Linked DNA regions of Homo sapiens: regions 2, 3, 4, 5 and 6 are each linked to region 1. The links are contacts of gene promoters, found by promoter capture Hi-C in blood cells and fetal thymus (Javierre and others, 2016). All regions are on one chromosome and are shown on one strand. The core of a region is centred on a gene start or on the middle of the fragment in contact, and the rest is flanking DNA. Distances in the headings are between cores, read along the strand shown. Region 1 holds the start of COPA (coat protein complex I subunit alpha). Region 2 overlaps MPZ (myelin protein zero). Region 3 overlaps DEDD (death effector domain containing). Region 4 holds the start of USF1 (upstream transcription factor 1). Region 5 overlaps F11R (F11 receptor). Region 6 has its middle 33 kb from the start of ITLN2.

What was found. The method cuts DNA at HindIII sites, captures the fragments that hold promoters and counts their contacts. A CHiCAGO score of 5 or more calls a contact.
Region 2: a fragment that was not itself captured here is called in contact with the fragment with the promoter of COPA in region 1 in 1 of 17 cell types (non-activated CD4 T cells); the score reaches 5.2 in non-activated CD4 T cells.
Region 3: a contact is called between a fragment that was not itself captured here and the fragment with the promoter of COPA in region 1, in 1 of 17 cell types (activated CD4 T cells). The highest score is 5.2, in activated CD4 T cells.
Region 4: a contact is called between the fragment with the promoter of USF1 here and the fragment with the promoter of COPA in region 1, in 1 of 17 cell types (fetal thymus). The highest score is 5.4, in fetal thymus.
Region 5: a fragment that was not itself captured here is called in contact with the fragment with the promoter of COPA in region 1 in 1 of 17 cell types (total B cells); the score reaches 6.4 in total B cells.
Region 6: a contact is called between a fragment that was not itself captured here and the fragment with the promoter of COPA in region 1, in 1 of 17 cell types (non-activated CD4 T cells). The highest score is 5.4, in non-activated CD4 T cells.

The regions. Positions count from the first base shown.
Region 1 is chr1:160,341,345-160,345,555 of GRCh38, forward strand. COPA (coat protein complex I subunit alpha) reads right to left here and starts at 1,906. Exons shown (of 33, transcript NM_004371.4): 1 at 1,787-1,906. The coding sequence starts at 1,826. NCSTN (nicastrin) reads left to right here and starts at 2,039. Exons shown (of 17, transcript NM_015331.3): 1 at 2,039-2,137; 2 at 3,378-3,482. The coding sequence starts at 2,053. RefSeq lists enhancers at 1,839-2,786, 2,059-2,108. The HindIII fragment of the contact is 9,711 bases long and covers 1-3,672 here.
Region 2 is chr1:161,301,306-161,305,516 of GRCh38, forward strand. It overlaps MPZ (myelin protein zero), which reads right to left. Exons shown (of 6, transcript NM_000530.8): 6 at 3,430-4,211. Among named protein-coding and RNA genes, the nearest start is that of MPZ, 6.6 kb to the right of the region's middle. The HindIII fragment of the contact is 1,122 bases long and covers 1,971-3,092 here.
Region 3 is chr1:161,124,737-161,128,947 of GRCh38, forward strand. All of the region lies in intron 2 of DEDD (death effector domain containing), which reads right to left. It also overlaps a transcript of NIT1 not described here. Among named protein-coding and RNA genes, the nearest start is that of DEDD, 5.8 kb to the right of the region's middle. The HindIII fragment of the contact is 1,588 bases long and covers 1,085-2,672 here.
Region 4 is chr1:161,043,526-161,047,736 of GRCh38, forward strand. It overlaps USF1 (upstream transcription factor 1), which reads right to left and starts at 2,452. Exons shown (of 11, transcript NM_007122.5): 1 at 2,333-2,452. ARHGAP30 (Rho GTPase activating protein 30) reads right to left here. Exons shown (of 12, transcript NM_001025598.2): 12 at 3,421-4,211. The coding sequence ends at 4,190. RefSeq lists enhancers at 1,252-1,481, 1,541-2,421, 2,020-3,219, 2,332-2,811, 2,422-3,302. The HindIII fragment of the contact is 1,293 bases long and covers 1,589-2,881 here.
Region 5 is chr1:161,013,252-161,017,462 of GRCh38, forward strand. The region is part of intron 1 of F11R (F11 receptor); the gene reads right to left. Among named protein-coding and RNA genes, the nearest start is that of F11R, 5.8 kb to the right of the region's middle. RefSeq lists enhancers at 233-382, 793-1,012, 2,654-3,251. The HindIII fragment of the contact is 7,117 bases long and covers 1-4,211 here.
Region 6 is chr1:160,985,394-160,989,604 of GRCh38, forward strand. No RefSeq gene overlaps it. Among named protein-coding and RNA genes, the nearest start is that of ITLN2, 33 kb to the left of the region's middle. RefSeq lists a silencer at 2,006-2,300. The HindIII fragment of the contact is 816 bases long and covers 1,552-2,367 here.

The DNA.
Region 1 (4,211 bases), core at 656-3,155:
GTACATATAAACATAACCTCATTCTTTTTAACTACAAGGGACAAATGTACTACACTTATATTATTCTAACAGGCATTTTGTCCGCCAATTTTTGGCTATCAGAAGAGCCTACTGAAGATACTTCTACACATAATCTAGCCTATTTGCATTATTACTGCCCTAGGCTAAAGACCTGTGAGATTGCTCAGGAATAGAATATGTGCACTTAACATTTTAGTACATATAGTTTAAATGTAAAAACACTGTATCAATATACAGTCTCATGAAGTTTATGGAGGTGCCCATTTTGCACACAGGCTGCTATCAGCTATTTGTTGTTTTGTTTTATAAATCTAAGACCCTCCCCCCAAAAAAGTAACTTAACTTTTTTTTTCTTGCATTTCTTTCATTACTAGTGAGGTGGAACTATTTTAATTATTTATTGAACATTTACAATTTTTCTTCTAAATTGTCTATTTTTCCATTAGGTTCTTTTTTTTAATTATGATATATAAGTACACTCAACAATGGATGTTTGCCCTCAAATATTATGACATCTTTGTTTTTCCTTCTGTACTGCCCAGCAAGAAATTAGGAGCAGAAAAGAAAACTGAAAGATTATGAAGACCCATTTCACATTTCACCTATACAGGTCTCAGAAATTCTTAATGGTACCCATCTTTCAAGGTCAAGTTTCCCAAGAGACTTAGAAACTGCTCAGAATATATTCACACATTGATAACAACCTCCAGTTTTTGAGCTACTGAGTCTACACCAGGCGCTGTAATAAATACACTCCATATACTTTCTCATTTTAATACTCTCTATAAAAGACGATTTTACAGATGAGGAAATACAGACTTAGAGACATTAAGTAAGTCATCCAAGTCACAGCTTGTTAGTGGATGTCTCAGGATTCCAAGGCAAGCCCATCTGACTTCAAAGACCAAGTTCCTAACCACTTTGTTACGCTGCATCTCACTAAATATTCTAGATACTATTTTTTCCAGGTCTTCGGAGACCTTACTTCTCTGACTTTCACATTCTAACGTTCTGAGGCTAATACTGCGATCTCAGTATTTGCCCTCCACCCCCAACGACCCACACTCGAGCTCTAGAGCTGCCGTACTTAGCAAATAAAAATACGAGATTTCCAGATAAATTTGAACTTCTGGTAAGCAACGACAGACTAAAAAACTATTCATTGTTTACCTGAAATTCAAATTTAACTGGGTATCCTGCATTTTATCTGGCAACTCTATCAAGTTGAGACTTTATTGGGGTTATAAGCCTCAAGTACTATTTCCGGGTAGTAAATAAAGCCGAATGGAGGCACTGATGTTGAGATGCTGCAGCCAAGGCCTCCTTAAGTGAGGTTGCCACTACTCGTCTCCAAAAAGGCTACTGACTCGGGTGCGAGTAACAGAGATCGAGACTCAGTTCCCAGGGCCACTCCATATAACACAGTCATCAAAAAGCCAACAGATCACAGGGCCTTTGGAGCAGAACAACACAAATCGGGAGCACAGCCAAGAGAGAAAGGGGGAAGAAAGAATAGGGAGGGGGTCTAAGGAATCCCCTGCAGTGTGGGAGCCACTTTATAGGTAAATCGAAGCCCAAGGACACACCAAAGAAGAGGGGACTGGAGAACCGCTAGCCAGGCCCAACCTCTCTCCCACCCTCCGTCTTCCTCCGGGTCCGTCTGGTGGGCCCATTTCGACCAACACCTCTACCCATTTTCTCTTCCCCGGTGTCAGCGCCGCTCCTGACATCCAACCTCCATGTTCCCCCTTTTATTCTCCACTACCTTTGACCCGCGCGCTCTTGGTCTCGAATTTGGTTAACATCTCTCAGGTCTCCGACTCCGATGTCTTAATCCGAGCCCCGACACACCCTGCTGCCCTTCGGACGCCTCCACGTCAGCGACCCTCTCCCGCGGTTTCCGGAAGCGCCTGGAAACACGAACTTCCGGTCTCTTAGGCTCCGGGCCACAGAGACGGTGTCAGTGGTAGCCTAGAGAGGCCGCTAACAGACAGGAGCCGAACGGGGGCTTCCGCTCAGCAGAGAGGCAAGATGGCTACGGCAGGGGGTGGCTCTGGGGCTGACCCGGGAAGTCGGGGTCTCCTTCGCCTTCTGTCTTTCTGCGTCCTACTAGCAGGTGAGGCCTCCCCGCCCGTGAGCTCCGTTCTCTAAGGGGAACTCTCGGATCGGCCCCGCCGCGACCGCCACTGTCTCCCTTCTGGTTCCTGCTGCCCCTCTGTCCCCCCACCCTGTAAATCCTCTTTCTTTTTCGTTCCCACGACAGAAGTTCCCCCTTTGCCTGGACCTGAAGGTCCCTTCTCCCCCGCAGCACGTCGTGTCGCTTCACTCCCTTCTCTAGGCCTCTTCCTGGACTTCGAGCCTGACCCTCTCCCACTTTGTCCAGATGTCTCGTTTTTCCCACAACCCCAGCCACCCACCCCACAGTCGAAAGGAACAGGTGTGAAAGTTAGCTTTCTTCCTCGCGTTTAGACTTTTTGAGACGAAAGCAATCTTGTTCTGTGGGTGCTGTGCGGCGCTTAAAAGGTGGATTTCTTATTTCTTCCTCTGTTGATTACATCCTAAGTCTGTGTCCCCCTGCCTTGCCTCAGGTTTTTTTTTTTTTTTTTTTTTTAATCAGTAAAGCAAGAATAAGGTAGGATATGGGTACTCTTAACTGTGAAGACCCTGAAGTAACAATTCAAGGAACTTTTGGCATTTATAATGTACTTAAGTGTTTGCTGATACGCGTTCATTTACTGATACATGGCTTTTTAGTTGGTCAAGCCCTAAAATGCAAATGCCTGTATATAACTATGACTGTGCCTTCCCCCAATTCACATTGTTTTTAAGGATCCTCAAAGGAGAAACTACAGCTGCCCCACACTGTGGGCACACAAATGACCTGCTGATGTTAAATTAACTGACCCGTGTATGTCATAAGGTTTCTCTCAATTCTGTTCACACTCTTGGAAAAATGCCTCAGAAAGTTTTCTTAGCCCAGCACCTGTGTATTAACCAATTAGTAATATACATACAGGATATACAAGCAGAAGTGTGATCACCTGTGCAACCAGAATCTGGCAAATCTAAGGTCAAACACCTTTCCTTTGACCAAGTTTTCTCTCTTTTAGTGTCACTGTCAATGGCGCTACATGGACTTTGTAATAACCCTTTGAGGCACATAGCTGGGTGCCATGTAGAACATGTATCTGTTACGATAAGTGTGTGCCCAAGAAATCAGAAGAATGGACTTTAATCTCATTTTAGAAAGTATGATATTAAATGATTTACCCAAGCCATACTTCAGGTTAATGACACGATAGAAGCTAGTACCTGTGTCTCTCAAATTTTTCTAACACTTTTTATCTTCCGATCAGGTTTGTGCAGGGGAAACTCAGTGGAGAGGAAGATATATATCCCCTTAAATAAAACAGCTCCCTGTGTTCGCCTGCTCAACGCCACTCATCAGATTGGCTGCCAGTGTGAGTTGAGATGGATTCATGTTTGTGGACATTGATATTTGTCTGTGCCCTAGATACTAAGTAACATCCATGTCCTGCTTAGGAGATTTGACACTTATATTGGACTGTATGTAGGCAGTTACAGATAACCGTCTGTCAAGCTAGGCAAGATAATTAATAAGAACTAACATTTAGTAAATGCTGCATACCAAGCTTTTTACATGTGCATCTCATACAACCCCAACCACAACCCCACAAAATAGGTCTTACTGTTATTGTCACTTTATAAATGATGAAACTAAAACTTAAAGAAGTTGAGTAACTTTCCCAAGATCATACTGGTAATAAGTGATGATGCCAGGATCTGGTGGCCCGAGCACTAAGCTGAGAGACCTTTTTTTTTTGACACGGAGTTTCACTCTTGTCCCCCAGGCTGGAGTGCAATGGCACGATCTCGGCTCACGGTGACCTCTGCCTTCTAGGTTCAAGTGATTCTCCTGCCTCAGCCTCTTGAGTAGCTGGGATTACATGCACCTGCCACCATGCCCAGCTAATTTTTGTATTTTTAGTAGAGATGGTGTTTCACCATGTTGGCCAGGCTGGTCTCGAACTCTTGACCTCAAGTGATCCACCCACCTTGGCCTCCCAAAATGCTGGGATTACAGGCGTGAGCCACCGCACCCAGCCGAGCCAGCACTCTTAACCACCCTATTATACTGTTTTTTAAGGAGAAAAAAGTCTCATATTCTA
Region 2 (4,211 bases), core at 1,282-3,781, 960 kb after region 1:
CCAGATACTCGGGGGGCTAAGGCAGGAGAATTGCCTGAACCCGGGAGGCAGAGGTTGCAGTGAGCTGAGATCACGTCATCACACTTCAGCCTGGGCAATAAGACCAAAACTCAGTCTCAAAAAAAAAAAAATTATTTCCATAGGTTTTTGGGGTACAGGTGGTGTTTGGTTACATGAGTAAGTTCTTTAGTGGTGATTTGTGAGATTTTGGTGCACCCATCACCTGAGCAGTATACACTGAACCTAATTTGTAGTTTTTTTTATCCCTCACCACCCCCACCCACCCTTTCCCCTAAGTCCCCATTTTGCATTCTTTTGTCATAGCTTTTGTTATCAAGTATTTATGCATGAGAACCTGTTTCTTCATAGCCCTCCCTGGTTCTGTTTGTCAGGGTTTTCTTTTGTTTTGTTTTTGTCTTTTTGTTTGTTTTGGGGTTTTTTTTTTTTTTTTGAGACGGAGTCTCGCTCTGTTGCCCAGGCTAGAGTGCAGTGGCATGACCTCAGCTTACTGCAGCCTCCGCCTCCCAGGTTCAAGCGATTCCCCTGCTTCAGCCCCCTGAGTAGCTGGGATTACAGGTGAGCACCACTATGTCTGGCTAATGTTTTGTATTTTTAGTAGAATGGAGTTTCACCATGTTGGCCAGGCTGGTCTTGAACTCCTGACCTCAAGTGATCCACCCACCTCAGCTCCCAAAGTGCTGGGATTACAGGCGTGAGCCACTGCGCTTGGCCCTGTTTTTCTTTTTTAACACGAGTGTCTCCATCTTGATTCTGACAACTTTCACATATTGTTACTTAATAAATCTTATAATTTTTTTCATACAGGTTATGTACCTTTCTTGTTAATTTCTGTTTCTGTTCTTTTTACTGTCATCAGTGGGCTTCCCTATTATTTTCATTTCTAGCTAGATTTCTAGTTATAGACTGAAATTAATTTATTTTATAATCACACTACCAGATTGACTTCTTAGTTCAATACATGTCTAGTTGCATCTTATGGATTTCCTAGAAACACAATCATATTATCTGCAAATAAAGATAAGTTTCTCATCTATGTATACAGATTGTTCCTTGTTTTTGGTTAATTACACTAGCTAAATTCTTCAAATATAATACTGAATATTTTTAGCGATAATGTAAGTACTGTCTTTTGTTTTAATGACAATGGCTGCAATATTTCATATTTAATATGCTTTTTAAATGATTTTTGAAAAATAGTGTCCATTATGGTTATTTCTATTACTATTTTACTTAGAATGTTTTGTAGGAATAGCTACTAAAAAACAATTGCTTTTTTTTTTTTACATCTCCTCTTGATAGAATTACGTTTTTTCCCTGATGATATAACACATCCTGTTAGTAAATTTCCTGATACTGAACTATTCTTTCATTCCCAGAGTAAATTCTTCATGGTCATAATTTATTATTTTATTAACTCATTGTGGAATTCTCTTTTGCAAATATTTTATTTAGACTCTTTGTCTGCGTATTCATAAATTGGGTTATAATCTTTTTCTTTTTATGGTTAACACTGAAAAAGGCTTTAAATTATTCTCAAAGTGCTCACATGCCTGGGCAAAATTATTGCTATTATTAACAACGCACTGAGGATTGTGAACGATTTATTTCAAAGTAATAATTAGATGGGATTCAAAGTTTCCCATATAACAATGTCATTTCCCTTTATCTGAATCATTATTCTAGACTTTATTTAATGCTTTACTGCAGAGGAAAGAAAGGGGGGATGTGGCTTACTTTGTTGGGGATTGTGGAAAATGGGCACAGTCCTGGAAAAACCCACATTAAGTGTGCAATGCTTGTGAAAATGCCTAATGCAAGAGATTGCAAAATGTTGTCCCAGGGTACCAGGATTCTTGATGGAATAAGAAATATTAAAATAATTGGATAAACTGAGCTAGCAAAATGCAGGTGGCTGATAAATTTTAGAACAAAAGTGTAATTAAATGAGAAGCTTTGAGCTATACTCTATCTCATAAGTAGCATAATATTTCATTTGACTCTCTCTCTCTCTCTTTCTTTTTTATTTTTATGAGACATAGTCTCGCTGTGTTGCCCAGGCTAGAGTGCAGCGGCATGATCTCGGCTCACTGCAACCTCCGCCTCCGCGGTTCAAGCAATTCTCGTGCCCCAGCTGCCCAAGTAGCCAGGGTTAGAAGGCGTTCACCACCATGCTCGGCTAATTTTTGTATTTTTAGTGGAGACAGTGTTTAGCCATGTTGGTCAGGCTGGCCTCAACCTCCTAGCCTGAAGTGATCTGCCCACCTCGGCCTCCCAAAGTGCTGGCATTACAGGCATGAGCCACCACATCCAACCTCATTTGACTCTCCTGACAGTCTGGGAAGTTTAAGCAGGGAACCCAGCTGCAACTATCTAATGAATAATGGACAGTTTAGCATCTTAACTAATAAGGAATCTTGGGCTTAAGATATTCCCAACTTTATTACTGGGTTGTGACTAAGTTTCCTCTCCCACTTCCCCCCAACAAAAGGCTATATATACTCTATTAGCTTTTATATTTAAATGAAGGCAGATTGATTTTTTTTAAAAGACATTGAAGACACCCCTCAAACAAATGGAAGCACTCTGGGTTTTGGTAAAGCTGGTGTTAATCATATCTTTAGCTTCTTAACAAGGGGAAGAAATTACTTGTGGGCACTTTGGGTTTTTTTGTGCCATCAGTAATCCCCAGGGGAAAATGATACGTATATGTTTTTCCACAATCAGTTCAGGATACCAGGATATTAATGGTATACCTAAATCAACATACCAACAAACTAGCTAATGAGGTATTAATAGTATACCTATTAATAGGTAAACAGAAGTAAAATCATGTACCAACAAAACAAAGCAGTGATTGTTTAGAGAGGTGAATGGGATTTGTGCTAATTTGTAAAGTGTACTACCTTAGGCAAGCACTAGAAACAAATATTGAACACCTTAATATTTAGTTGTATATCAACTTACAGTTTACAAAGTTTTCCATACACAGGATCTCATTTGATTATTATAAAATCCCTAGGAATTAAGCAGGGCAGATATCATTATCTCAGTTGTTTACAAGTACATAAACAAGCTTACCAAAGTCAGGTAACTGTCCTGGGGATCACACAGCTAGAGAGTGGCTGGGATGTTTTAAAATTCAGATCTTGGTGAAGACAGATTCTGCGTTTTAACTCATGTAAAAGCAGAGACTGGCAGAGTTTACAACGTAGTATAATCTCACTGATTATTTGCTGAAGGTATGAATGTGTCTTGTGAGGCTATTTCAGAGTTCTTTCTAGTATACTATATAAGCCCACCCCAAAAAAACAAACTAAACAACTGAAGCCAAGTATGGAAGGTTGGGGATGGGATAAGGGGCAGGAATTATTCCCAGGAGGACTAGGAAATTCTAGACAAGGCAGCAGCTTCTGGAAATGTCAGTGTTTATTAAACATTTAAGGACATTTGGAGGTTTGAGAAGAAATATACAGAATGTAGAAAAATCCTAAGAATCCCCTGTGGCTGCAGTGCAGCCTCTTCCTCCCCCCCGCCCCCCCATTTCCCATTTGTTTTTCCTGCTTTTTGTTTGGTTGTTTAAAAACCATTTCTTAAGGCTCATTTGCCCCCTCCCCCACTCCCTGACCTATGAGGATCCATTCTCTCTCTCTGTCTCTCTCCTCAAGACCTGGAGTCCCAGAACAGTGCTCCAAAGTGGTCAGGGGGAACCAATGCTATACTGAAGTGTGAGGATCAGGGGCCCCTCTACTTGGGCTGGCTCTTCATTAAGGACTTAAGGGGGGCGTGAATTGCAAAAGCCACATGACGTCATTGGTCCTCAGTCATGGGTGTAAGGGCAGAGGATGAGCACAGGTAAACAAACAAAGAATGGATTAAAAAATAAAAAATAATAACCTAAATAAACCCTGAAGGAGAGTCTGATCTGGGTGCTCTGGGTATTAGCTGGGGGGACAGAGTATGGAGCTGGGCCACCTGGTAGAGGGGAGGGAGGGACGGGAGAGGAAACAGCCAGGGGGACAGGCTGGGGGATGCAGGAGATGGGAATGCCAGGTGGCCTGGACTTGAGGCAGAGGGTATCAAAGTCCCTTTCTTCTCAGTGCTCAGGTGGACAGGCACCAAACACACAGCCCCCGGGGCAGGTGAGGGGTAGGATTAGCTCCTGGGCTCCCAGAAAGCCAGGGGTGAAGGTG
Region 3 (4,211 bases), core at 629-3,128, 780 kb after region 1:
GGATCACTTGAGCCCAGGCGTTTAAGACCAGCCTGGGCAACATAGGGAGACCCGTTTCTACAAAAAAAGAAAAAATTAGCTGGGCTTGGTGGTACACGCCTGTAGTCCCAGCTGCACAGGAGGCTGAGGTGGGAGGAAGGCTTGAGGCCAGGAGTTCAAGATCAGCCTGGTCAACATAGCAAGACCCCATCTCTACAAAAAAGAAAAAAATTAGCAAGGCATGGTGGCATGTGCCTGTAGTCCCTGCTACTCAGGAGGCTGAGGCAGGAGGATCACTTGAGCCCAGGAGTTCAAGGCTGCAGTGAGCCATAATCCTGCACTGTAGCCTGGGTGACAGAGTGAGTCCCCCATCTCGGAAAAAAAAGAACTAGTTTAAATTCTGACTGTATCACTGAAAGGCTGTGTAGCTGTGTGACCGTAAGCAAGTCACTTAACTCCAGATTCTCAGTGCTGTCATCTATAAACAGGGATGAATGAATATACACCTCAGAGTTGTTAAGAATCCAATGAGAAAATCACGGGTAACCCTTATATAAATGGTTGTGAAACATTTCAAAGATACAAGCATCCTTGGCCTTTGCAGCCCAGAATCATCCCTCCACATTTTTCCTACAATCCAACCACATCAAGAAATGATAACTGCTCAGAAAGTTTATCAATATTTACCAAAACTCATGGATTTAAAATAAACATTAAGTTTCTACAATAAGCATTCTTGTAATTCTATGCCATTTGTACTCCCTTGATCTTCACCCTATTTGGCAATATCAACTTTTTTTTTTTGAGATGGAGTCTCACTTTGTCACCCAGGCTGGAGTGCAGTGGTGCAATCTCGGCTCACTGCAACCTCCGCCTCCCAGGTTCAAGCAATTCTCGTGCCTCAGCCTCCCAAGTAGCTGGGATTACAGGCACGCACCACCACGTCTTGCTAATTTTTGTATTTTTAGTAGAGATGGGTTTTTACCATGATGGTCAGGCTGGTCTTGAACTCCTGACCTCAGGTGATCCACCCACCTCGGCCTCCCAAAGTGCTGGGATTACAGGCGTGAGCCACCGTACCTGGCCTTGGCAATACCACCTTCTAAGCTTTCCTCATGGATGTCATTTACCAATCCCCTATCAATGACCAATCACAGCTCCACATTCGTTATATAGTTTGGCTCTTGATTCACAAAGTTCCTCCATCGTTATGGGCTACAGGTAATACCAATGACGCAGCCATTAATCAATTCCCAAATTCAACAACTTTGACTCAAGTCACTCATACTTACTGCTCCACCAGACAGTACCATCCTATACTGTGCACTCTCTGGTCACACTCTCCAATCACACAATCAATCCTAAATTCCTGTTAATGCTACTTCTAGATATTTCTTAAATCTATCCTACCTTTCCACCTCCACTGCCATGGTTCAGATTACAATAATCTCTCACCTGGACTACTGTAACTTTAAAAGTTCTCTGCAACACCAATCTTAACCTACCTAAATCCATCCACTGCCACATCTAGTTCAGTTAGCTGTCTGAAGTCCACAACTGACCAAGTCACTTTCCTGCTTCAGACCCATTGATTGCCCCATCGTTATCTATAAGAACACTCCAAACTCTTTTTTTTTTTTTTTTTTTTGAGACAGAGTCACTCTGTCGCCCAGGCTGCAGTGCAGTGGCGCGATCTTGGCTCACTGCAACCTCCGCCTCCCAGGTTCAAGCGATTCTCCTGCCTCAGCTTCCCGAGTAGCTGGGACTACAGGCACCCACCACCACGCCCAGCTACTTTTTGTATTTTTAGTAGAGACGGGGTTTCACCATATTGGCCAGACTGGTCTCGAACTCCTGACCTTGTGATCCGCCTGCCTCGGCCTCCGAAAGTGCTGAGATTACAGGTGTGAGCCACCACGCCTGGCCGAACACTCCAAATTCTTTACACACACATCAAGCCTTCTAAGATCAGGCCTACCTTCCCAACCTCATTTCCCATCACATCCGCTTTTTATTCTCTAACATTATCAGTTTGTTTATAGTTCACATACATCATGCAATTTCTCTATACCTTCTTCAGGCTCTTCTCTTTGCCTGAATGCCCCTCTCCCTTCTCTATTCCACACCCCCATCATCACTCTTTTTCAGATGGCTAACTCCTACTCATTCTTTAAGAGTCAGCTCAGATGCCATCTTCAAAATGCATTTTCTACACCCCCATGCAGAGATAAGTAGTCCTCTTCTGTGCGCTTATGGAACACTATGCATATCTCCTTTACACCATTTATCACCATGTACTAAAATTATTTGTGTATTTATTATCCCATTAGATCCTACTCAACTCATGGAGAGATATATTCATCTTTATATCCCTAGTGCCTAGTAATGGACAGAGCCTCAAATATAGTGGGAGCAACCCACTGTTGAACTGAACTTAATCTCCAAGAGATCACCTCAAGCAATTCCAATTAAGAAACAAATTCACAAAAGTCCAAGAGAGGACCCCATTAAAAACAGATACAGGTAATTCAGTTACCATGCATATATTCTAACTAGCCATAGCCTCCTCTGCAATGTCCAGAACTACCCACACCATACCACACCACTCTACCCTACTCAACAATTAAACAGGTTGCTCTGTCCATTTTATACAAAAAGGAACTGAGGCTAGACTAGGAAACAATAAAATAATAAGCTTCTTTGGAAAAACAAAGCTGATAGAGAAAGCTGAAGAGTAAGTAGGAACTGGTCCTTTCTTCCTCAGATGAAAAACTAAAATGAAAGCACAGAGAAACTCATTCCCTTAAGAAAAGGGGAGGTACACTCTGGGATCACTTAACCCTATACCATGGGTTCTGATATGTAGACAGGAAATGTAATCCATATATAGTTTTGAGAGCCCAGATGCCCCACCCAAAGCATGGGAAATAGCTATTCAACTATAGACTGGTATTCCTTGCCTCTTCCTCTCGATTCACCTGTTGCTGTTACTGGGTACAAATGAAGGTGCTAAAGGAAAATAAGTTATTGCTCATAGCAGGCAACATGAGAAAACTGAGCCTCCTCAGAGCCCCTGCAACTTCTCTTTGTTCCCTATCCCACCTGTTCCCTTGGGCCAGCTGTTGATTGTGAGGCTCTCAGATAAAGCAGATTGGGTAGGTTTCACATTAAACCAACCAGAAGAGCTGGTTGCTCCACAGTTCCCTAATTTAAAGTGTGCTTAAACCCCAGGAAATGAAGAAACACTGTCCCCACATACCCTCGCAATGGAAAATAAGGCAAAATACAGGAAAGCACTGTGGTCCTAATTATGTATCAATGGATGTAATTCTATAAGCTTCAATCCTTTGAAGTTAACTCCCTACATTTGAGAGGAAACAAACACACTAGCCACCTTTAAGTCCTAGATCCCAGGCTAGATCATCAATGTACTAGGAATTATAATAGCTTTTAGGTCAGTGGTTCTGAACCAGGGGCAAATTTGACCCCTGGGGAATATGTGGCAATGTCTGGAGACATTTCTGATTATTATGCCTGGTGGGGAAGGGGACTGCCATCAGCATGTAATGAGTAGAAGCCAGGGATATTTAGAAACATCCTATAGGACAGGTGCAGTGGCTCCCGTCTGTAATCCCTGCACTTTGAGAGGCCAAGGTGGGAGGAACACTTGAGCCCAGGAGTTTGAGATCAGCTTGGACAACATGGTGAAACCCCATCTCTATGCAAAATATAAAAATTAGCCTGGCGTGGTGGCATGCACCTGTGATCCCAGCTACTTGGGAGGCTAAGGTAGAAGAATCGCTTGAGCCTGGGAGGTCGAAGCTGCAGTGGGATGTGATAGCGCCACTGCAGTCCAGCCCAGGTGACAGAGTGAAACCCTGTCTCAAAAGAAAAAAGAAACATCCTGTAATGCACAGAACAGTCTGCCACAACAAAGAATCATGCAGCACAAAATGTCAATAATGCCAAGGATGAGAAACCCTATTCTAGGTGGAGCATGGTAAAGGGTCAAAAGAATGCATGTCACTTTCCACACTAGATCTAGAAAAAGCCATCTGGTCCCTCCATCCAAACCCATCAAACAACATTCCAGAAGAAAAGAAAAGCCTGTCGGACATACATGTTCATTTAACTCCCAAGTCCAACTGCACTAAGGTGTTTCATGCCACTCCAACCTTGGGTCCTCTGTCACCTGCTGTTGCCATTCAGCTGAGGAACAGGTGGTAGTTCTA
Region 4 (4,211 bases), core at 1,202-3,701, 700 kb after region 1:
AAAAGCAAGGCTACAAATAGTGTTCCCCATCCCTCCATTATCACTCCAACTCCTGGTGGAGAGTGGATAATTATACTGGAAGACAGAAACAACACTTTTTTTTTTTTTTTTTTTTTGAGACAGAGTCTCTCTCTGTCACCCAGGCTGGAGTGCAGTGGCGCGATCTCAGCTCACTGCAACCTCTGCCTCCCAGGTTCAAGTGATTCTCCTGCCTCAGCCTCCGGAGTAGCTGGGATTACAGGTGCACACCACCACGCCTGGCTAATTTTTGTATTTTTAGTAGAGACGGGGTTTCACCATGTTGGCCCGGCTGGTCTCGAACTCCTGAGAGCATGATCTGTCCACCTCGGCAGCCTCCCAAAGTGCTGGGATTACAGGTGTGAGCCACTGCACCTGGCCGAAACAACACATTTCTTTCTTTTTTTTTTTTTTTTTTCTGAGACAGAATCTTGCTCTGTCACCCAGGCTGGAGTGCAGTGGCACAATCTCGGCTTACAACCTCCATCTCCTGGGTTCAAGTGATTCTCCTGCCTCAGCCTCCTGAATAGCTGGGATTATAGGTGCCCACCACCACGCCCAGCTAATTTTTGTATTTTCAGTAGAGATGGGGTTTTACCATATTGGCCAGGCTGGTCTGGAACTCCTGACCTCAGGTGATCCGCCTGCCTCGGCCTCCCAAAGTGCTTGGATTACAGGCATGAGCCACCGCACCCAGCCAACAACACATCTCTAAATGGATCATTAAAGCTATTATGACCTGCCATGATGGCAGCTTCATGGGAATCAGGAAGGGCCATGTATTGGCCCCACCATCAAAAAATACAGTGTCATGGACACTGATGCTTCTTCCAGTTTCTCAGCCACATGTTGTCCATCAAGACATTTCTGTTTTCAAACCTAGGAAGAGGAAATCTGAAGCCCACTACCACTGGAAGAATATCCCTGACCACAAAGACTAGACTTGGCATTTGGGCCCCATTCTACTGACAGGACTCTTGTTTTGGGGTATCCAGATTTATATAATCTGTTAGAAACCCTAAAGCCCAAGTGGATCCTCTTCAAGCATTCTCTATTTTATTCATCAAGCCTTCCTGCAGAACAACACTGTTGCTAAAATGTTGCTATGACAACTCCAAATCAACTAAGCCTGAGCAAGAAGGGGTAAAAAAAAAAAAAACAGGGTTCTGAAGAAGAGACAAAGGGGGAAGAATCCACCTACAAGCTCTGCCTTAGGACCCTGACACCCAGCCAGAGGGCAGGAAAAACAAAGAGCTGGGCAGACATGCCTCCAGAAAGAAACAGCTACACAGTACAAAGCAATAAGATAATCCCAACACAAAAGGGGCAAGATTTTTGGAAATTCTCTACCCATAAGGTCCTCCAAACCTTTCCTATCCAAGGAAAATTTTCAATGGATAAGCCTCGGAAAGACCGCGTCCGAGGAAAATGTTGAAAAAGGAACTGAAAGTGAAACCGTACAGACGAAGTAACGCTGCAAGGAGATCCCAGTCGATAAGGGGAAGTAGCACTAGTGTTTTGGGACCACCTACATTTCCATCTTCAAACCTGAAGAGGAAATGCCCTGCGAAGCTTGCCGCGCTGACTGCAGGGGAAGGCAATGAAATAGAGGGCCCGGCACAGGAGGCATCTCTATTGGCCACAGCTGTCAGCCGGGGCAGTCTCTGAGGACACCCAGCAACGGGGTCAGGGTACTTATTCAAATCTTAGTTGGACATCCGGAAGCATTTCCTAGGCATTAGGGATCGGTGACACGGAAACAGGGATGGGACGTTGTGGTGTGCACGCTCAGGCCAGAAGGGCCCAGTAAGAGCCCTTGCTAAGTCTGGACACAAAGGGAAAAAAAATCAACTCCCGAAAGAAGTCAGGCACCTAGACCTTGCCTTAGAATGAGGCGTCTCCCTGCAGGCTCACCAACCAGAAGGCGCTTACGGAGCTGAGCGCCCGCCAGGCGCGAGCCCGGGAGCCTGCGCCGTGACCCCGCAGCCCCGCAGTCTTAGCCCCGCGCCCCAGCTGCTCCGCGGAGGAGGCAGGAAAGGGCCTCGGGGACTAGGGAGCTCAAGCGCCCGGTGCCGGCGGCTGCGGCGCGCAGCTGGACAGCGCAGGAGGGCTGGGACGCTCGCGCTCTGGGGAAGGGAGAGAGTTTGGCCCACAAAGCAGGGTATGAGATAAAGAACCAGCACAGCCCCCTCCCCCAAAACAAAGGCTTCCTCCCCAGCAGTGTTCTCTAACTTGAAAAACGGAAACAAAATCAAAGCTGCCCTGCCTTGCCAGTCCACCCAGTTTCCAGACTTCTGCCCGGTCCTACACTCACCGGCCAAGGCCGTCTCAGCTGCCGATTTTCTCCAACTGTGTTCTCCCTCTCCCGGCCTAGGTATCTCCATAGACAGCTGCTCATGCGCACTTCCAGCCCGCGGCCATGTTGGTGAGGGGCGGAAGTGTCGCTCTCGCCCCGCCCATAAACTCAAACTCAGAACTGCCCCACTTCCGCTCACTCCATCTTGATGAGAGTTGGTGTTTGTGGGTTATTTGTGAAGCCGGAAAGAAGCCGTGTCCTGGAGAATGTAGCTGAAGGCCTGGCCACTTTCGACAAGAACGGGAAAGAGACGACTAACTTGTACTAATATCTTAGTGCTTGGCAGGGCATTTTTTCATTCCAGGAAAGAAGAGAATCCAGCTGAGATCAAGGGAGGGACGTCCGACGGAGGCGCCATCTTTAACAAGGGCTATTTGGGAGGCCATCTTGGCGCAGGGCGTCTTTTTGAAAGGTTACCTGCTAGAGATTACGACCTATCGGGGCATGCATAGAATTGGATATGTTCCTTGTTATTCGCGTCAGCAGTCACTCATCCAAAGACCCCAAAGCTTCTAGTGTTCTAAAGGCTCACACCTTCTGTGACAGGAATCTTGATTCCCATTCTTCTCAATCAAGACCTACCCTGAATGGATTTGGAGTAGTGTGGTATAATGGGAAAAATTCAAGCTTGGGGGCCAGGCAGATCCAGGTTTCAAACCCATCTCTGCCACTTCTTACCTCTGAGACCTTTGGCAAACATTTTGACTTAATTGAGCCTTAGTTTCCTCATCTATAAACTGGAGATACTAGCACCAACCTTCCAGAATTGTGTGGATTAAATAAAATCAAGGACATAGATTTTGTGAGCACAGGATACTTAGTCCAGTTCCTGGCACATAATGAACGCATTATGTAAATATAAGTTTCTCTTCCTTATTTCCTGACCACCATGAACCTAGCTCTAGTTTCTGGCCACTAGTCTCCATGACAACAACTGAGGAAGAGCACCCAAACAAGAAGAAGAAAAAGAATGTTTTGCCAAATATGTGAAGATATAATACCTATCACCAAAGACTTTAATAAGAATAATGAGACTCCACACTATGTGTAAAAATACAGCTTTTATTCTGAGACATTGACCTTCACTAGAGTGGGACCTGTGGCCCCAGCCTGGCTGGAGAAGCAGTCCCAGGGCCTGAGTGACACCATTTCCCTTTCCTGAAATAGGAACAAGTTATTCCAAAGGAGAAAGGAGAGCCCAGAGAGATCTGTACAGGACCTCTCTTGCACATGGTGACTGGAGGCAGAGGGTGGGGAGCTGGAGAGGAGTCCAGTCCCTCCAACAAATATTGAGGGCTTCAAAGAGCTCTTCCTGGACGTTTCTCTTAATCTGGATTTAAAAGGGACAGGAGGTATCTTAGGGTCCAAGAACATAACAGGAATGGGCAACTCTAGAAGTGTTTGTGTGTGGAAGGCCCTAACCTGGCCCTGTCCTCCCTGTCTCTACCTTTGGCTTTCATGAAGAGAGATTCACAGCTCAGAGGAAGGGAGGAATTTCTCCAGTCTTCACTTTAACAAACTCTTTTAAGTTTTCTGCCTACCTTATGTTCCCTTTGGCCAATGACCCACTCCCTGGGAACAAGATCTTGTTGACTTTCTTGGGAATCTCCTAAGAGATAAGTGCTTTGTGTCGGAGACAAGTTCAGGTAAACCAACCAAGGCAGTGCCTCCCACAGTCAAAGAGAGAAGCTGGAGGGCCAAAGCCTATAGAGTTGGGCACTACAGCTGCTCATGCTGCAGAGGAGACAGCTAGTCAGGAACCCTGGAGATTCAAGACAACTTGCTGGTCCCCTTTGCCCAGGGCTGTGGTCCTAATCACAGTCCTTCACCTTTCCCA
Region 5 (4,211 bases), core at 986-3,485, 670 kb after region 1:
CAAGACCCCCCAGTTGCCAGGGAGCTGGAGCCCTGCAATAGGAAGGATGAGTCAGGGCCTCCTCACCCCACCAGCTACAGCATACCCAGTTTAACTTCATGTTTTCCCCCTAATCTCTAGCACAGTGCTCAGAACATAGTAAACACCAATGTTTGTTGGATTAACAAGTGAATTTCACACTGCAATACAATTAGAACCTGGACCTAGAGCTTCCACTCTGGTTTTCCCCTTCCTCCCCACCACTCACCCTGTAGAGATTGAAGTAACTCCCATAAGGGTTGGCCTCCTCGTAAAGATCAAGAGGCTCCATGGGCCAGGGAAGTTCCACAGGGAAGGGCCTTTCCGGGGTTTGGGGTAGAACAGTTTAGAAATGTGTGAGCAAGAGGAAGGCTCTGTGAGGCCAACAACAGGCTGGGCTATGTCTAAATAGCCATCCTTGGCTGCACTTTCAGTGATGTCGATCAGCTGGCTCGGGTCCTCTGAGGATGGCAGAAAGTGGTAATGGCAGGGTAAGACAGGCTCGCTTTCACTCCCTGGCTCCCTCCCGCCCTCTCTGCAGAATTTCCGGTTCTACCTGCTCAGCTCCCCCGCCACCCCATCTTCCCAGTGCAAGGGAAGGTCGAGCCTTCCAGCGCAGGACTTACTTCAGGGGCCCAGCACCCACTTCCTGCCAGCCAGCTGCTTCCTCCTGTTCCGCCCCTACATTGTGAAACAAATGACGCAGCCGGACTTTAGACAGAAACCCTGCTTATCAGGGAGTCCAGGCAGATGAACTCTGGGTTCTCAATGCCAGGAAAACCCTAGTGTGTATCCACTCTCACAGTATGTGTTCACTCATACTGCTTTCCACAACCGTCACACAATAGTGAAACCTCATCCTCAATTATGTTGGACGCAAGGTCATCCAGGTCTTTCCTGAATCTCTGAAACAGAAACTGGTTTGAGTTTAGAGATCTCCAGGGTCTCTAGTCAAACCTAACAGATGTGATAAACAAGTCTCATTATTATCACATAAAATGTGCATGGCATTTAAATCTATTTTTGGGTGTGGTGGAAACGTGTGTTGCCCATTTATGTGTCCACAGAACAAGTGCAAATTGAACTCAGCTGACTTGGAGGGGGGTGGGATGTATCCTAACAGCCAAGGCCACAATCCCTAGAAACCAATATGGGCCAGGTGTAGTGACTCATACCTGTCATTCAGCATTTTGAAAGGCCAAGGCAAAAGGATCCCTTAAAGCCAAGAATTCAAGACCAGCCTGTACAACAGATGAGACCCTGTCTGTACTAAAAAAATAAAAAATTAGCCAGGTATGGCTCACCACTCACACTTGCCTATAGCCTCAGCTATTCAGGAGGCTAAGACTGGAGGATTGCTTGAACCCAGGAGGTCAAGGCTGCAGTGAGGCCAGGCACGGTGGCTCATGCCTGTAATCCCAGCACTTTGGGAGGCCAAGGCAGGCGGATCACTTGAAGTCAGGAATTCAAGACCAGCTTGGCCAACATGGTGAAACCCTATCTCTACTAAAAATACAAAAATTAGCCGGGCAGCTCACACCTGTAATCCCAGCACTTTGGGAGGCCAATGGGGGCAGATCACAAGGCCAGGAGATCAAGACCATCCTGGCTAACATGGTGAAATCCCATCTCTACTAAAAATACAAAAAAAAAAAAAAATTAGCAGGGAATGGTGGCGGGTGCCTGTAGTCCCAGCTACTTGGGAGGCTGAGGCAGGAGAATGGCGTGAACCCGGGAGGCAGAGCTTGCAGTGAGCCGAGATCACGCCACTGCACTCCAGCCTGGGTAACAGAGCAAGACTCCATCTCAAAAAAAAAAAATTAAATTAAAAAAATATGTACAAAAGGCTGGGCACAGTGGCTCATGCCTGTAATCCCAGCATTTTGGGAGGCCGAGGCAGGCAGATCACGAGGTCAGCAGATCGAGACCATCCTGGCTAACACGGTGAAACCCCGTCTCTACTAAAAAAAATACAAAAAATCAGCCGGAGTGGTGGCGGGCCCCTGTAGTCCCAGCTACTCGGGAGGCTGAGGCAGGAGAATGGCGTGAACCCGCGAGGCGGAGCTTGCAGTGAGCCGAGATTGCTCCAGTGCACTCCAGCCTGGGTGACAGAGCCAGACTCCATCTCAAAAAAAAAAATATATATATATATATATATACACACACACAAAAATTAGCCAAGAATGGTGGTGCACGCTTGTGTCCCAGCTACTCGGGAGGCTGAGGCAGGAGAATCACTTGAACCTGGGAGGCAGAGTCTGCAGTGAGACAAGATCACGCCACTGGACTCCTCCCTGGGCAACACAGCAAGACTTTGTCTCAAAAAAAAAAAAAAAGGCTGCAGTGAGCTATGATCATGCCATTGTACTCCAGCCTGGGCAACAGAGTGAGACCCTGTTTCAAAAACAACAACAACAACAACAAAACTCCATGATATATATATATAAGCAAGATGTAGAATATATGTAGTATGCCTCTTTTTGTGTCAGAAAGGGGAGAAAAAACAAGTATTATTTATATATACTTGTATCTGTAAAATGAAACACTGAAGAGACATTAGAAACTATTGGGGTTTGGGGTGAACAGGAGCAACATGGGAATGAGATACCCCACCCCTTTGATATCATTTTAATTATAAAACCATGTCAATTAACCTATTCTAATTAAATTTTTTTAAAAAAAATCACAGTAGCTCTATCTTGAATCGGAACTGGGCTGGAGACTCCACAAGACATGATCACAAAGGAACTGAAGAGCAACATGGTGAGGTAAAAGTGGTCTGGAGTGGCCAGGTGCAGGGGTTCACGCCTGTAATCCCAGCACTTTGGAAAGCCTAGGCAAGAGGATTACTTGAAGTCAGGAGTTCGAGACCAGCCTGGCCAACATGGTGAAAACCCGTCTCTACTAAAAATACAAAAAATTAGGGGCCGGGCGCGGTGGCTCACGCCTGTAATCCCAGCACTTTTGGAGGCCGTGGCGGGCAGATCATGAGGTCAGGAGATCAAGACCATCCTGGCTAACACAGTGAAACCTCGTCTCAACTAAAAATAGAAAAAATTAGCCAGGCATGGTGGCGGGCGCCTGTAGTCCCAGCTACTCAGGAGGCTGAGGCAGGAGAATGGCATGAACCCGGGAGGTGGAGTTTGCAGTGAGCCGAGATCGTGCCACTGTACTCCAGCCTGGCGACAGAGAGAGACTCTGTCTCAAAAACAAATAAATAAATAAATAATACAAAAAATTAGCCGGGCGTGGTGGCGCGTGCCTGTAGTCCCAGCTGCTGGGGAGGCTAAGGCAGGAGAATCGCTTGAAGCCGGGAGGTGGAGGTTGCAGTGAGCCAAGATCATGCTACTGCATTCCAGCCTGGGTAACAGAATGAGACTCCGTCTCAAAAAAAAAAAAAGTGATCTGGAGCCAGAAGGCAAAGACTAAAGGACACTGAAATTCCACTGCCACTCGTTTCCTAGTTCCAGGTAGAACTAGGAAGTGCCAGTCACCAGTTTCTAGTTTGGAGGGAACAATTCACTCCTGGGAGTAGAGGGAGAGGAAAGGAGGAGTGACTCACCAGTGTGGGGAAAAGCAAGAGAGATCAGATTGTTACTGTGTCTGTGTAGAAAGAAGTAGACATAGGAGACTCCATTTTGTTCTGTACTAAGAAAAATTCTTCTGCCTTGGGATGCTGTTAATCTATGGCCTTACCCCCAACCCCTTGCTCTCTGAAACATGTGCTGTGTCAAACTCAGGGTTAAATGGATTAAGGGTTGTGCAAGATGTGCTTTGTTAAACAAATGCTTGAAGGCAGCATGCTCCTTAAGAGTCATCACCACTCCCTAATCTCAAGTACCCAGGGACAAAAACACTGCGGAAGGCCGCAGGGACCTCTGCCTAGGAAAGCCAGGTATTGTCCAAGGTTTCTCCCCATGTGATAGTCTGAAATATGGCCTCGTGGGAAGGGAAAGACCTGACTGTCCCCCAGCCCAACACCTGTAAAGGGTCTGTGCTGAGGAGGATTAGTATAAGAGGAAGGCATGCCTCTTGCAGTTGAGACAAGAGAAAGGCATCTGTCTCCTGCCCGTCCCTGGGCAATGGAATGTCTCGGTATAAAACCAAGACATTGTACGTTCCATCTACTGAGATAGGGAAAAACCGCCTTAAGGCTGGAGGTGGGACATGCGGGCAGCAATATTGCTTTGTAA
Region 6 (4,211 bases), core at 710-3,209, 640 kb after region 1:
AGGCCAAGGCGGGTGGATCACCTGAGGTCAAGAGTTCGAGACCAGCCTGGCTAACATGGTGAAACCCCGTTTCTACTAAAAATACAAAAAATTAGCCAGGCGTGGTGGTGCACGCTTGTAGTCCCAGGTACTTGGGAGGCTGATGCAGGAGAACTGCTTGAACCCAGGAGGCAGAGGTTGCAGCAAGCCAAGATCACGCCATTGCACTCCAGCTTGGGCAACAAGAGCAAAACTCTGTCTCTTTTTATTATTACTTTTTTAATAATAATAATAATAAAAGTGTTATGCGTGTCCACATAAGAGACCACCTGAACAGGCTTAGTGTGAGCAACATGGCTGTTTATTCACTTGTGTGTGAGTGGGCTGAGTCCGAGAAAGGGGTCAGCAAAAGGTGGTGGGATTATCATTGGTTCTTATAGGTTTGGGATAGGCGGTGTAGTCAGGAGCAATTTTTTACAGGCAGGGGATGGATATTACAAAGTACATTCTCAAGGGTGGGGAGGATGTTACAAAGTACATTCACAAGGGCAGGGAGGGTGTATTGTCACAAGGGCAGGGAGGATGTATTGTCACAAGGGTGGGGAGGAATGTTACAAAGTACATTCACAAGGACAGGAGTATCACAAAGTACATTATCACAAGGGTGGGGGAATGTCACCGTGGCTTGACCATAGTGCAGCCAGCTCAGAGGACCTTACAAAAAGTTTCATACTTGCACGTGTTTTCTTGTGGCAAAAATATAAAACATTTAATTTCTGGGATTCTTTTTTTTTTTTTTTTTTTTTTGAGATGTAATCTCACTCTGTTGCCCAAGCTGGAATGCAATGGCGAGGACTCAGCTCACTGCAAACTCCGCCTCCCAGATTCAAGCAATTCTCCTGCCTCACCCTCCAGAGTAGCTGGGATTACAGGCGCCCACCACCACGCCTGGCTAATTTTTGTATTTTTAGTAGAGACAGGGTTTCACCATATTGGCCAGGCTGGTCTCGAACTCCTGACCTTGTGATTTGCCTGTCTCGGCCTCCCAAAGTGCTGGAATTGCAGGGTGAGCCACCACGCCTGGCTGGGATCATCTTTTTTTCTACAGAGAGAAAATCAATTGTATCTCTACCAGGCAAACAATTTGCATTTGTATTAATATGAACAGGGATCATTTGTATCACTGTCAGGCTTCTACATATTTAACTTTTCTTTCTAGAGTTGCAAAACAGTACAAGACAAGGAAGGATACTGACCTGTAGAGAATCAGAAAACCCCCAGAAGCATCCTGTCCTCTAGTCTAGACAAATCCTAGTAATCCACTGGAAGGATGCCTGTATTTGTCCATTTCAGAAACTGTCACAATTTTTCCTTAACTAACAGCAGGAATTTTGATAGCCAAAAGTCATATTGTTTATTATCACTGTGGGAGCCAAGGCCTTTGGCTCCCTGAAGTTTGCTGAAAATCACTGACGCAAGGCAGATTAATAGGAAAAAAGGCATACAAACTTATTTAATATGTATACATAGAAGCCTTCAGAATGAAGACCCAACCTCCCAGTGAGGTGCAAAAGCTTATACGCCATCATGAGGTTACAGAAAGAATGAGTTTGGATCCTGCGGGAGAAAAGGAATTCTGTTGATGGGCAATAAATGATTACTAAAGAGAATGATTTGATCAGGAAACAAATTAACTTGTAAATAGTTTTCTTTGGAATTTAGATGACCATGAGAAGCAGGCATTAACTCATGAAAAGGTCTGTTCAGGTGTGGTTACATTTTTGGTCTTACAGGAGGAAAAGAAACCTACTGTTCTCCTTGGAGGGTCTGGATCTTAGGCAAATAAAGGAACTTCAGCTTTTTGGGAGAGACCGTGTGGAGCGGGGAAGGTCAGAGAGATCTTCAGGTTGCTTCTTCGGTTCAGTACTATATTTGGGGGTATCGATTTATAAACCCCAACATTACCTAATGTATTGTTCCCGATGAGCCTCCCTCCAATCCCTTTTCCCCTGTATCCCAATGGCCGGAAACTTGTGGAAATTCTTCCCAAGGCCTCTAAAAGCAGCACTTGCTTTTGCCTGGTTGCTAATGCAAGTTGTGAATTGCGCACGTGAATCACTATCACTGTCCATCCACCACTCTCTTGCTCTAAGGCATTGAAACGGCACTGCAGAGAGACGCCAGGTAACAAAGACTCTCCTTAACCAAGCTCTAGCATGGCTTCTAGCAACTTAAGGCCTTGTCCCTAGGAGGACCTCAGCCCCCCGCTTAAAATGCCTGCCTGAAAAAGCTCATCGCTGTCAGAAAAATTTACTGTGCATCCCAGCCCAAACCTAGCAATAGACACAGGCCCCTGAACTTCATCTTAGTGCAATTACTTAGAAAGAAAGCTTGCAATTAAAACATCTTTCTCTGCCTCTTTGAGATGTAAATCTTCTACCCAGAGCTATTTTCACTGGGACCTGAGAGTTTCTTTGAAATGCAAACATTTGAGGAAATAAATCTTGCTCCAGCTCCCAACCAGGTGGGTGCCTTGCTCTAACTTGCACTACTAGCTCCTGTCGTAAAAATAGGTGCTTATTTCTCTTCTGGACAAGAGCCAATTCACAAATCCAGATTGTCTAGTCACATGGAGCAATTCTCCTTAATATCTTCATGCCTATCCCTTAGCACATCCCAGCCTTCAAAAGGCCTCCTGCATTTTTTTTTTTTTTAAGGAAGTTAAGTTCAGTTCACCTTGGGCCCTCTTCCCTACTGCAATAGTTACTACTTAAAAAAACCTATCCTAGGCCGGGTGCAGTGGCTCACGCCTGTAATCCCAACACTTTGGGAGGCCGAGGTGGGCAGATCACCTGGGGTCAAAAGTTCAAAACCAGCCTGACCAACATGGAGAAACGCTGTCTCCACTAAAAATACAAAAAAATTAGCCGGGCGTGGTGGTGCATGCCTGTAATCCCAGCTATTCAGGAGGCTGAGGCAGGAGAATCGCTTGAACCCCGGACACGGAGGTTGCGGTGAGCCAAGATCGCGCCATTACCCTCCAGCCTGGGCGACAAGAGTGAAACTCCATCTCAAATAAATAAATAAATACCTATCCTTACTTCTTGTCTAAACTATTGTCTGGCTTTGTTTAGCTTTGACACAGGCTTTATAAGCCCACAAGTAACTTTAAGGCAAAGCCTTATAAATTCATCCAAGGCACTGACATTGAAGAATGTCTAACATTTCTGTGATATGCTTCAATCTCACTTCCAGCCTGTTCCAAACCTTCTTTTTAGTTTTCTACTTCCAGAGACTTTTTCCTTTGGTTAATCACCTTGTAATTCTTAGGTCTGATTCTCGAGCTAGCACATTTCAGCCCCTACAAATAAATGCCTTCTCCCAAAATGTGCAGCTCTTTTGCCATGCTACATTCTATTTGTCTTTCTAGTACTATTTTAATAAGTATCATAGCTCAAGCATGATCAACCCTCAGCTTCTTTATATGGTTATAGGAGTCTCTGACAAGCCTGAGGACAAGCATGTTCTGCATATTTTTTCTTGTCAACTTTTTTTAATGTGCAAAACATTAACATGGATCCAGAAGTCAAAACTAGACAAAATGGTAAATAAACTCAGAGAAGTAATACTCCATCATGTATCTATTTTTATTTTTATTTTTTTGAGACAGAGTCTCGCTCTGTCGCCCAGGCTAGAGTGCAGTGGCGCGATCTGGGCTCACTGCAAGCTCCGCCTCTGGGGTTCACACCATTCTCCTGCCTCAGCCTCCCAAGTCGCTGGGACTACAGGTGCCCACCACCACGCCCGGCCAATTTTTTGTATTTTCAGTAGAGACTGGGTTTCACCGTGTTAGCCAGGATGGTCTCGATCTCCTGACCTCGTGATCCGCCCGCCTCAGTCTCCCAAAGTCCTGGGATTACAGGTGTGAGCCACCGCGCCCGGCCGATCATGTATCTATTTCATCTAGACCTTATCTACCTCTTGAAATAACCAATTTAGTTTATTTTCCTTCCTGTGTTTGTTTCTGCAAAAATAAGCAAATATAGTATGCTTTCTTATTTCCCCTCCTTTCGTATCAAAAAGGTGGCCTTTTTTTTTTTAATTTTCTCATAGAGACAGGGTCTCACTTTGTTGCCCAGGCTAGTCTCAAACTCTTGGCCCCAAGCAATCCTTCCACCTCAGCCTTCCAAAGTGCTTGGATTATAGGTGTGAGCCACCATGCCCAGCCATTT